Linked DNA regions of Homo sapiens: region 2 is linked to region 1. The links are contacts of gene promoters, found by promoter capture Hi-C in blood cells and fetal thymus (Javierre and others, 2016). All regions are on one chromosome and are shown on one strand. Each heading gives the region's core, a stretch centred on a gene start or on the middle of the fragment in contact. The rest is flanking DNA. Distances are from core to core; before and after follow the strand shown. Region 1 holds the start of SMYD3-AS1 (SMYD3 antisense RNA 1). Region 2 overlaps KIF26B (kinesin family member 26B).

Region 1 (6,148 bases), core at 1,894-4,393:
AGTGTCACTGTTCCACTCCAGATAGCTGTCATTATGGTATTACATAAACTAGCAGACTGCTGTGGGACGCAAAGGGGATGTGCACCGTTTTGGTTATTTGAGGGGACTTTGGCATGCCCTTGTAGGAGCCCAGAAGGAAGGATCATACAGTTTAGTCTTAAGCTGTGCAAAAACATGACCACATGAATGAAACCAGTCTTCCTGAGGCCAGAGGGCTTATAAAGAGGAAAGATACACACCTTGAGTAGACTTCTTTTTGAGCAAGGATATCCAGAAGTAGAGTGTTAAGGCAAAGCAAAAGATTCTTTAGACTGCACTCAAGTCTGTCTTTATAGGCATTTCTTGCTTGTGTAGCATGGAAAGGACCACTGCTTGCTCAGTGTGGCTTTTTTTTCTGCTATGCTGGACCATGTAAGTAGCCATTGAGATAATTTATTCCTGAGTCAAAATAAGAGGGCATTAAATTTAGTAGAACTGAAGTTGGCACTGGCTAGACTGATTACTATGATGGGATCCCTTGGAGAGCATCACTGGTGAAAGCACCTGGATTCTATTTAGAAAAACTTAAGTATGTAAGTTGCCTTCTTTGGGGGATGAAACTTATAATGAACTATTGTAGAGGGTATGAAAGCCCACGGCATGTTTCTATCATATACTATATATATATATGCTATACTAAGATGTTATGCATGGGTCAGGGTCCTTGGTAAGGCTCACCTGTCATTTCTTATGTAGTTTATATTTGTTTCTCTTTGCGCAAGGATTTGGTGAGTTATCTTATGGACAATGAAAGGAGAAATGTCCTAATGCAGAGTTCGCTCCTAAGTTTAAATGAGAAATATCTAAAATCCTAAACCATGAACATGGTTCATGGTTTAGAACCCTTAAAATGGAATTACAGTACTTTTAAATTGGTAGGTGTAAGGAACATGGCTGCACTGCAGCCAGGCAGGATGGGCTGAGGTAAACATCCCGGGTGACTCAGCAAGTCTGTAGCGCAGGCGCGCAACTCCATGTGTAATATAAACAGCTATGTAGCCATAACATGGGAGGGCCATCACTTGGCTCTTTGCCACTGTTGTCTTTAAAAGGTATAATTGCCCTGGTGACACTGTGCAGGCGTGCTTGCACCCAAAGAAAGAGAGAGAGCACCAGATCTGTCTGTCTTGCAGCGGGGAGCCAGGACACAGCTCAGCTTGCTTGCGCTCAGAGGGAAAGAGTTAAGCTGTTGACCCCAAAGGGAGAGAGAGCCAGCAGAGATCTGTGCTTGGGAGTGGCTGGAACAAGCAGCCGAGACACACAGTGTAAGAGAGCTGCTGAATAAAATTGTATTTCACCTACCCGTAGCCCCCTGAGTGTTCTTTCAGCTGTCTGCCATTCATCTACCCACTCCCTTCCGGCCTCAGCATGGGCTGGAACCTGACCCTGGACCTAACAATGGGGATCTTAGGGACTTAAGAGATCATCTAAATGAACTCTTTACAGATGAAGAGACTGAATCCCCAATGGTTAAATGACTTGTCTAAGTCCACACATCTAGTTAGACGCTGAGCCAAGACAGAACCTGATTTCTGGTTTCTAGATGTGCACCCCTTACTCAGTGGCATGTACTGTAATTCACAGTTTCCATTCACTTGTTGCCAAGGTCTGCCACTTCCGAGAGTTTCACAGTTTTGGTGTAAGTGTACATTGCCAAATGAGAAATAGCTTGGAAATATAACTGAAGAGACATTATCTGTTGTGACTGCAGCTGAAGCACCAACTTTTAACCAGTATTAGCACTGCTTATTTCAGCTCCTATCCTTATCTCAAATAATTCTGCCTTCCTATAACACATGATGGGGACCCCTGGGAGCCGCCAAAAAGGACACTTACTCTGAGGTCTTGCCCAGGTCTCTGCTTCTTCCTCCTTGTTCCCAGATGGCAAACGGACATCCTCATAGTAAGACTGGGCTGCTTTCCACCTGCGCAGCCCCATGGTAAGCACCTGCAGCTCCAGAGGGAATTTATTTTAGTAAAACAAACAAACCTGGAGACCAGGAGATCAATTATCAGTAGTTTGGTAATAATTGAAAACTAGGTCAGAGGCTTCTATTCCTTTTTCCATGAGAGCTGGATATGTGAGGTTGTTCTTGATGAAAGCTGAATTTTTAAATGCAGGTTAATGGCTTTCTTGGAAGCCAGCAAGCAATTAAGGTTTTCTCATCCATGCAGAAATTACAGCTGCAGGGGGCAATTTTTAAAAATTCCTTTGGATTCTTAGAACATACTATATTTATTTATTTTCCCTTAAATTCTGACCTTAAGCTTAAAAATAAGTTTGTTAATACTAACGTTGTTTTCCCTTGAGCTAGCTTTGAACCTCAAATGAATTGCAAACTGCGAAGTGACTGCTGTAGGGCTACTCTTCAGTAAGCTGGTCCAGTTATATGGTAATGAATCCATTTATAAAAAAAATTGTATGTGAGCTGTTTCCAAGGCTATTATAGTATTTCTTTATCAGACTATACATAATTTTACGTTTGTAACATGGTACAGTTCCAACTGAATAGGCAGTAATTTTCTTTATTAGAGTTGCATTTTAGAGTGGTTCATTCATCAGATTTTTATCAAATATATTCTTCGTGTCATTCATTGTGATAGGTTCTGGAATATGATTAAGAAATGGTCCCTGAACTCCAGGGGCTCACAGTCTAGGAAGAAAAAAGACAAATAAAATTATACCAATATAATGAATGCAGTTCCATGGCATATGAAGAGTGTTATAGAAACACAGAGCAAAGATGTAACCCTACCTAGTGTCAAAGAAGACTACACAGAAGATGGTGCATTAGAAGGAAGAGAAAGAATTGGCTGCACCAACAGGAGGAGGGGAAAGGACCTTCTGAGAAAGAGAAGAGTGTGTGCAAAGCAGTGGAGGCCTCAGGGAGGATGGTGGTCTGCTAATACTGAGTTTAGTGTGGTTGTCTTTGTCTTACGTTGCTTGCAGGGAATAAAGCTAGTATTTGCTTTGCTAGCTGGACTGAGCTGGGCTATACTAAGTTGTCTGACCTTTATCCCGTACACAACAGGAACTACAGGAGGTTTTCAAGAAAGGGAGTGAAGTCAGATTCATAGTTGAGAAAAACATTCTAGTAACTAAGTGGTGAATAGAATGAAGAATGGGAGCACTGATTGGAAAGCATTTATAATAGACGGTGGAGGGCAAGTTTTAGGAAGCAGGCAGTGATTGTGATGTCAGAATCAATTTGTATGATATTTAAATAGTCCACCCGGAACTCAGTAAAGCAAAGATTGTTGAAGAGGGTGAGCTTGAGAGACTGGATGGATGTTGATAACATTAATTGTGTGAGGGTGTGATCTCTTTGCTGAGATTTTAAGTACGGTAATTTTCTGATGTGATACCTGTATTCATAGCGTAACCTGTGACCCTATTTGGATAGCCCTTATGCCTCTGTATTATGATTGTCAGTCACTTCCCTGAACTATAAACTTCTTGAGGTCAGAGATAAGTTTTAGTGGTTCTTGTTCCACAGCCTCTGACACAGGGCTTAGTTATGTAATAGGTGCTTGGTAGATTTTGGATGTTTAGACGTGGATGCATCAGCCATCTACTTAAGAATTCCTCTTTCGAATTCTTCCTTTGCACAAGAAGACCTTTGTTTCTTAACCCAAAGAAGACGAGCTCTGTAAGTCCGTTATAATTTTCATTTTATGGCCAAGTTTCTCTGGACTTTCATTTTCCAGAAACTACCTATCTTAGATTTTGCTCTTTCCTTAGTGACAACTCAGTAAAGTTCCTATTGTTCAGAGATTACATGATGAAGTAGATATATACATGTGTGTTTTTTCTTCTTTAAGTTTGGCTATTTGAACCTGTGGCTCTGTGGTGTAAACAGTAATTCCTTTCCAGATTTATTTATTTGGAAGTTTTTGGGTCTTTAAAAATTACTCCTGTGTTTCTGGTCTTGAGTTAAATCCACTTATAATTGCCCTAGGGGTTCCCATGGCATCAGCACAGCTGGAGGTCTGGTGGGCTTTTGTAAATGGCATTTGGAAGAGTGATTCATTTGCCAAAGCATTAGCAATCTTTTGTATTGTTTCCATGTGGTTTTTGTCTAAAGAGACAAGTGCTGGGATTTTATTTATTTAATAAACTTTGTTTGAATGAGCTAATTTCCCCACTGTCCAGAATTACTAAGGGAAGACCTGAGCATTTATTTCAAGGACTTATTCTATCCATTCCTTGCTTCAGTGGGGAGCAGTCACTTCTGTAGCCACCAACTACCTGATAGTCTAGTCTTTTCTGTGATTAAATTATAAAAATAATCTCTTTGTGAACTTGTCTGCTTTTGGTATAAGGTCGCATATTTAAAGAGCAATCTGTGATGAGATATGTTGGCTTCATTTTCTGTTTGTTTTCTAAAGAAAGGAAAAATAGATACATTTCCATTTCAAAATTCTTTTTTTTTTTCTTTTTTTGCGATGGAATCTTGCTCTGTCACCCAGGCTGGAGTGCAGTGGCGCAATCTCGGCTCACTGCAAGCTCCGCCTCCCAGGTTCACACCATTCTCCTGCCTCAACCTCCCGAGTAGCTGGGACTACAGGCGCCTGCCACCACGCCTGGCTAATTTTTTGTATTTTTAGTAGAGACGGGGTTTCACCGTGGTCTCGATCTCCTGACCTTGTGATCCGCCCGCCTCAGCCTCCCAAAGTGCTGGGATTACAGGCGTGAGCCACCGTGCCCGGCCTTCAAAATTCTTTTTAAGAGCCTATTATATGCCCAACTCTTGTATTACTTTCTCTTTTTTCACGTTCACACCAACCCTACTTGAGAGCTGTTTTTCTCCTCACTTTGCTGTTGAGAACAGTGTTTCGGAGAGTTTAAGGAATCTATACAAGTCCCTTAGTAGTTCATATCAGAGGTTGTTTTACACCCAGGTTTTCTGTCATAAGACAGAAGCTTTGAAACTGCCTCCATTGTCCCCATGGCTCCACATAGGCCAGAGGGCTTCCAGATGCTGATAACATTGATGAAGAGGGAAGGTCAGAGACTAGACCTCAGTTGGAAGCTGTGGCAGTTGTGCTGTGAAAACCCACCAGAGGGAAGAGACGTTTCAATTCTTCTTTCATAACCACGGAAATCCTAAGTGACTTGTGGCACCTCGGTATATTAGGACTTCTCATTTCAGAAAGTTAATGGTCTTCTCTCCTCTCTGTCAGTGTGATGTATGTAACCACTGATTAGCTGACTCATTTGTTCAGTTGGCAGATACAGAGGCGATCAGTTTACTCGCCTTGCTGTTTAAAAATCATGATAATTTTGCACTCCCTTTGAGAAATGGGTAAGTTCAGAAATCAGTTTTGGGACTATCTTTATTTAACTAAGGCATAAGTGACTGCACCTTCAGCAAATTTAATTCCTGGCTTCAGACTGCAGTAATCTTAAATGAGACATTTTGTTGTATGCTTATAACCTCAGGGATTTTATCTGCTGCCGTCGTGGTCTTTTGAGGAGGATTCTCCTGTTGCAAAGGATGTCTACAATGTAATGAATGGCAAGAAGTATCAGGAGTATTTTGAGTGCTTAAACCCATCCGAGGTTTATTAATTTTCCGGATATGGGTTAACATGGTTCCATGAATAGGCACAAGGCCTAGAGAGTAGGATTAGGAAGGTTTCCAGGGATTCTGAACTCATGTCAAGCAAAACTGGCATGCTGGGCAGCTAAGTCAACTGAATAGGGAAAAGACTTTGAAAGTGCTTTATCTCACTGCATAATGTTTGTCAATTTCATTCAATTAATTTACAGCTGCAGGGCTCATGAGGCTGAAATTAAAGTTTTGTAAAGTTTCGATAAGGAGGCAGCCAAACAAGTTTGATTAGCAGTGGATGTTTTGGAAATGAGTTGGCAGCCATGCAAAAATAGAGGGTTTGAATTTCAGGAGGCACGTTGGCATGGCAGTGCCCATTTGATTAACCGTGGAAAGCCCATTACTTTCCACCTGGCATTTCGGGCATTTCTTTTCTCTGTGTGTCTTCTCTGAGGTAACCTCTAACATTGGAATAAACATCTTTTTAGTTAAGTCTCATCAGCCCATTGTTCTTAGTCTGTTTTATTAGCAATAAATCCGTTGTCTGTGTTATT
Region 2 (6,148 bases), core at 1,831-4,330, 890 kb after region 1:
GCGAGAGAATGGTGTGAACCCGGGAGGCAAAGCTTGCAGTGAGCTGAGATCGCATCACTGCACTCCAGCCTGGGCAACAGAGCAAGACTCCGTCTCAAAAAAAAAAAAAAAAAAAAAAAAAAAAAGAGGTAGGTATTTGCTACCTCCTGTGTGATGACAATGCTTTCCCCTCTCAGACAGACACAGAGAAGTAACCCACGGTCAGAACAAGACACTCTTGACTCTTGGGAGAGGACATCTTCCCAGAGAGTAGATGGGGGCAGATGCTCCCTCCTGGCATACACAGTCTTGGAAGGGTCAGTGCCAACTGAAATGGCAAAGTCAGAAATGCCAACAAGAACCGGGGAAAGGGTTTCAGGTCTGGCTGAGTCAGCTGCCTGTCAAGCTTCTACAAAAAGCAGGAGTTAAGAGCCAATAACTTTTTAGTGGTTCATTCTGCCCCAAGCTCCCTTTTTTAAAAAGGCTCATCCTGTTTATTAATTCATAGATTTAGAAACATAAAGCCCCCCTACGGCAAGGTACCATGTATATTTGCTTATTAAAATTCTGAGCTAGAGCGCACATGTGAAATAGACATTGAAACTGTTTGTTCCAAGGCAGTCCCATCTTAGGCGATTCCATGCGGCACACTGCAGAGCTCCTGGGGTCACCCTGGGCTAGAAATGGGGCAGAAGAGACACCTCGGTTCTTGTTCTTCCATAGAGAGTTGATATTCAGATCTCCCGGCGGATTGAGTGAAAACCATCGGCCCCACACCCAATACCCTCCTGCTTTTTCCTCACTCACCCTCCTCTGCTCTTCTTTTATCTCTCAGATGGGTGGACAGGTAAACAGGGAGAAGAAAGACAGCCATAGAGTTCCCTTCTGCTTTTCACCTGAGCCCTCCCTTCCCCTTCCCTCCCTCAGAGTGACAACTGCTGCTACTATCCCTGTTTATCTTATGCTAACCAGACCAGGAGATGGGATCCATCTGCTGAGGGGACCCTAAGGCACCCCACTGAGAAGCCACAGGCACAGTCTGCCCCCGAGGGCCCGAATGTCACTGCTCTGGTGACATGAAAGCTGGAGTAGCCCCTGGGATTCCCAGCCTGAGTTCTGGGGCCCCCACCATGGCCTCTGGCCTCTGCCCGCTGCACAGGATCCAGACATGCTGGACTGTAGGTGGGCTCTCTTCAGAGTCACCAGGCAAAAAGGATAAAGAAAAATGGCCAAATACTGAGTCACCGCATGGGGGCTTTGGAAAGAATGCAGGACTAAGCCCAGTTCCACCAGCAGTTGATGAATCTCAGGCAGCTCATTTATTCTCTCGGTGCTTCTGTTCCACTTTTGTAAAATTCGGGTGACAAGAAAACCTAACCGGCAGGTTGGTGATGATCAAATGGGATGGCGCATGTGGGTGTGCAACTGCTGGCAGCTGTGACTGTTCTGCGGACCTGTGCTCTGAACTTTGGTTTCCTCGTCTGAAAGATGGAGATAATCATCTTTACCAGGCCAGCACTCAGGACTCTTGGCGAGCAAGGCGGGTATCGTGAGATTACAAATCAGGAATAATATGTGTGTCGTGATATTAAAATAAAACAATCGACCGGGCGCAGTGGCTCATGCCTATAGTCCTAGCACTTTGGGAGGCTGAGGCGAGCAGATCACCTGAGGTCAGGAGTTCGAGACCAGCCTGGCCAATGTGGTAAAAATCCCCGTCTCTATTAAAAATACAAAAAAAAATAGCTGGGCGTGGTGATGGGCACCTGTAATGCCAGCTACTAGGGAGGCTGAGGCAGGAGAATCGCTTGAACCCCAGCAGCGGAGGTTGCAGCGGGCCGAGATTGTGCCATTGCACTCCAGCGTGGGAAACAGAGCGAGACTCCGTCTCAAAAAAAAAAAAAAAAAAATTAACAAATAAAACAATCACCACCAGAAAAGAGAGTGAGAGTCATTTGTTGTCCAAATTCTAAAGAGAAATTTTTTTTCCAACTAAAAGCTTCTCTCCTCAATACGGCGTTTCCTGTTTCACTGCTAAATTGGGTGGAGGTTTTTGTTGTTCTTGTCATTGTTGTTGTTTTAACCATTGACACCCTTTTCTCCTTTCAAGTTGCATTAGTTTAGGGCAAATGAGACCTCAATCAGAGGGGAATTGGACATCACATTTGTGTCCCCAGATGAGGAGACAGTAATGGGGAACCTCCCTGCTGAGACAAATATCCTTCCCTGTGGGCGGGATGCCTCTGAGGCTGGGTCAGGAAGCAACAAAGGGAGCTCTCTCAGAAGCTCCAGGGACTGCAGTTGGCTCCCTGTGCTCTGTGTTGCCTCTCTAACAGATGCAGTAGCACAGTGATCTCAAATATGAAATAAGGCAAAAGTGAAACGATTTTATATTAAACACTTCAAAAAACTGCAGACGCAGTTGAGGCAGGAACGTGGTCCTCCTTTGAAGATCACTAAACCTAGCTAACTCTTTCAACACACTGATTTAGCCCAGAAAGAACCAATTTGCGAAAGAACCAAGGTCAAATATGACATTCCACATTGCAGAGCCGGGTGATGCCTATTTCCAGGGAGAGCAGCTCCCCATCTGACTAAACGAGCTCTTCTTCATTTAAAACCCAGAGATGATTCCAGGGAACATAAAGCATACTTTCCGAAAGGCTACAATACATCAATTTTTCTTGCCTGCGTACCATCTAGATTTAGCCACTTAGTTCATCTTAATAAACAAGTTACTCATTCAAAGGAAAATAAATGAAATGTTTTGCCTTGAGGGACAGTTTTATTTTTAATAGTTTGGTGCTACAGCAACAGAAGTAATATTCTGCCATCTGAATTGCCTTTTGTTCTTCGGGACTTCTTGAGGGTGGGGTGGGGGAGGGCGGGGTAAAGGTTGCAAGTCTCTGAGTTTACCCTGTTCATAAACATAAATGCAAGCTCCTTCTCCTGCCCTTCTTTTTGTTACAGATACATCAGATGTTGCAAGGAGCTTATTTAAAGAAATGGAAGTTTATCGTCATGTCAATGCTGTATCTTTGAAGTTTTTGTGTGTGTGTGTTTTTTTTTTTTAAAGCAAGTAATTCCCATAAAAATGGAACTCAAGGAGAAGGGATATCTCTTAAAGAAATAACAGGTAATATGCACAACTATGATGCTGGGGTCTGATTCCTATTACTTATTTATTTTTTAATTAATTAATTTTTTTTTTAGAGACAAGGTCTCATTATGTTGCCCAGGCTGGACTCGAACTCCTGGGCTCAAGTGATCCTTCTGCCTGAGCCTCCCTAGCAGCTGGGACAACAGGTGCTCACCACTGAACCCAGCTTTGACTTCGTTTAATATAAAGTCAAATTTTCTTTTAATATGTAATCTTGAAAGGAAGATGAGGTCATGCCAACATTATACCACTCTAAACAGTAGAGAATATAGGGGCACATTTTCAAATTATCTAAGGAACTCACATCATTAGTCCAAAAATATTCTGATCATAGAAGCCTCTAAAAAAACACAAAAGCACAAAGACAATACACAGTCACCCAATTTCTTCTATCCCAGCTTTCCAGATCCAGCACATACCCTAAAAGGGGCTGTAAGCCTCTCAGGAGCAGAGACCAGCTTCGATTCCATTTTCCACACCCCGAGCCCAGCATAAGGCCTGGGGCAGAGCTGACATGGAATGAATCTATGTTGAAGGAATGGATGCGTTAACTAACAAATGAAATGAATCCTCCAGAGGAGGAGAAGCCTCCACTGGCTTTCAGAAATGGAAGAGGGTAGAGTTCTCTCTCCACAGGCCCTGAGGAGCAGCATCTGCTTCATGTCTCAGAGCTGTGGCCTCCCTGGTCTCAGAGAGGCCTGTTCACGCATCAGGCAGCTCTGTCCTTCTCGGGAACTGAATCTACTTCACACCAGTCCTGGAAAACACCCTCCCAATAGCACGGTGAAGGGAGGTTACCTGGACCGTGTCATGCTGGGGCCGCTGGCTGGAGGGCACCTGGCTGGTCACCAAGGAGCCGGGCCCTGAGAGTACTCGGCCACCCTTCCTCCCATGGTGGCTGCCATCTGGCACCCAGAAACCCAGCCTGAGGACGTTTTCCATCATAGCCTGAGCCAAGCAAGAGAGGACAAACAGCAGGGAAAGAGCTTTAGTCTGGGAAGGGAAAGAGAAACTTCCCAGAGAAACTTTGGAAGAGAAGCTTAAGGGAAGGGTTAGGGAGATGTATGCAGAACAAAGTAGATAATCCTACCCGTTCTCCGTGGCCCAACTGACATGCCACCTCCTTCATCAAGTTTGCCCTCATTCAGCCGATCTCCCAAGATGCCTCCCTCTTCTTAACTCTGACTACTCTCATTCTGCTGCTCAGCATTTCCCTTTTACCGCCTACCATATTCTGTCTTCTATGTCGTTATTTATTTACTTATTTATTTTTCAGACGGAGTTTTGCTCTTGTAACCCAGGCTGGAGTGCAACAGCACAATCTCGGCTCACTGCAACCTCCACCTCCTGGGTTCAAGCGATTCTCCTGCCTCAGCCTCCCAACTAGTTGGGATTACAGGTGCGCACCACCAAGCCCAGCTAATTTTTTGTATTTTTACTAGAGACGGGGTTTCACCATGTTGCCCAGGCTGGTCTCAAACTCCTGACCTCAGGTGATCCACTTGCCTCACATGTTCATGTCCTGTACTATCCCATTTTAGGCTTGAGGCTGGGCTCTTCAGCACACCTGCACTGGACGCCCGCTCAAGGACTTGCCCTCTGTCTGGCAAAAAGCCTTCAAATGGGATGGTAATGTGTTATTTATTAGGCCAGATTGTGGATACAGATTGTTTGTTACATTCTTTATGCTCCTTTGTATTTCTGACAGAGTTTATGATGATATTAAAAAAATGTTTTTAGAGGCAGGATCTCACAGTGTTGCCCAGGCTGGAGTGCAGTGGCCCAATCAGCTTACTGTCACCTTGAACTCCTGGGCTCAAGCAATCCTTCCACCTCAACCTCCCAGGGAGCTGGGATTACAGGCACACACCACTAAGCCTGACTCTTTTTTTTTTTACTTTTTGTAGAGATGGGGTCTTGCGATGTTGCCCAGGCTGGTCTCCAATTTCTGGTCACTGAGGTATGTAATGAGCAGTGTTAAATTCAAGGGTATCTGGGACTCCCAGCCACTGAAACATCTATTTCAAATGGTCTTCCCATTTATCAGGTTTTCACCAAATTATAAACTTCGATGTTTAGGTCCCATCTACACATCCCTCCTTCCTGTGAAACAGATTTCCCTGCTAACAAAATCTCAGCGGCTGGTCCCTTTTGAAGAAACAATAATGTCATGGGAAGGGGTGTGGACAGAACTGTGGGAGTCTTACTGTGTGGCAACTTTAGAAAAATGTACGTTCCAGGTACAACGACTATCCCGTAATTACCTCAAGGTAGCCCCAGGCTCCATCCTCAATCAGGAAATTCTGCGTCAAGTGGAACTTAAAGTTGGGGCACCACATCTTTCATCACCTAAATAAGGAGTAAGGAACGGGCAGAACAAAGGTGCGGCACACGGTCACGTGTGCATCCACACCACGCACAACGCCTTCTGATGATGATGAAAGGCTCCCAGCGCTCTCAGGGTGATTGACTGCCCAGGCTCCGGTGAAGGAAGGCTCTGCTCCTAACACAGAAAGGAGTCTGGCCCTGCCTTCCTGCCCCACGCCCTTCTTTTCTTCTCTGTCCTCCCATCTCTCTTCCATTACCTCTGCTTTAGGTCTGCCTGGATCAGGCACTTCCATCCCTGAACTCCACCAGCGATCTCTGGGAGTTAAGGGTTTGCTGATCCCTCTTCTCAGAAAGAGAGGGAACACAGCTTTGGCTAAAAGACAGAAGGAGCATGAGAAATGGGCAGACCCTTCGTCAGCGTGGTAGCCTGCAGAGTTTATTTAACCAGCCAGCAGGAAAGAAAAGAGGACACTCCCACCAGGGTCTCCATGTGAGCAGATGGCCTGAAGTGGTCATGTGGCCCCTCTCCAGGCCCCCCACCAGCCTGAGAGTCTGTCTTTTGGGGTTAATTGTGGTAACCAAGCCCCCTTAGGGCCTAGTTAATTTCCTCTCCCTCCAGAGGTTCATTCTTAAAAATCTAAGATTGACCTAAATTGTTCTGAACCGAAAGGAAATCAAAAC

Evidence for each region. Contacts are between HindIII fragments. The CHiCAGO score rates a contact against its expected background, and 5 or more counts as called.
Region 2: a contact is called between a fragment that was not itself captured here and the fragment with the promoter of SMYD3-AS1 in region 1, in 1 of 17 cell types (naive B cells). The highest score is 5.4, in naive B cells.

The regions. Positions count from the first base shown.
Region 1 is chr1:246,105,621-246,111,768 of GRCh38, reverse strand. SMYD3-AS1 (SMYD3 antisense RNA 1) reads right to left here and starts at 3,143. Exons shown (of 4, transcript NR_183265.1): 1 at 3,052-3,143; 2 at 1,876-1,987; 3 at 240-438. The region is part of intron 5 of SMYD3 (SET and MYND domain containing 3); the gene reads left to right. RefSeq lists a silencer at 1-162 and enhancers at 717-1,216, 1,217-1,718. The HindIII fragment of the contact is 2,656 bases long and covers 2,310-4,965 here.
Region 2 is chr1:245,213,105-245,219,252 of GRCh38, reverse strand. The region is part of intron 2 of KIF26B (kinesin family member 26B); the gene reads right to left. It overlaps KIF26B-AS1 (KIF26B antisense RNA 1), which reads left to right. Exons shown (of 5, transcript NR_151721.1): 3 at 2,950-3,115; 4 at 5,047-5,099. Among named protein-coding and RNA genes, the nearest start is that of KIF26B-AS1, 18 kb to the left of the region's middle. RefSeq lists an enhancer at 4,799-5,998. The HindIII fragment of the contact is 2,200 bases long and covers 1,981-4,180 here.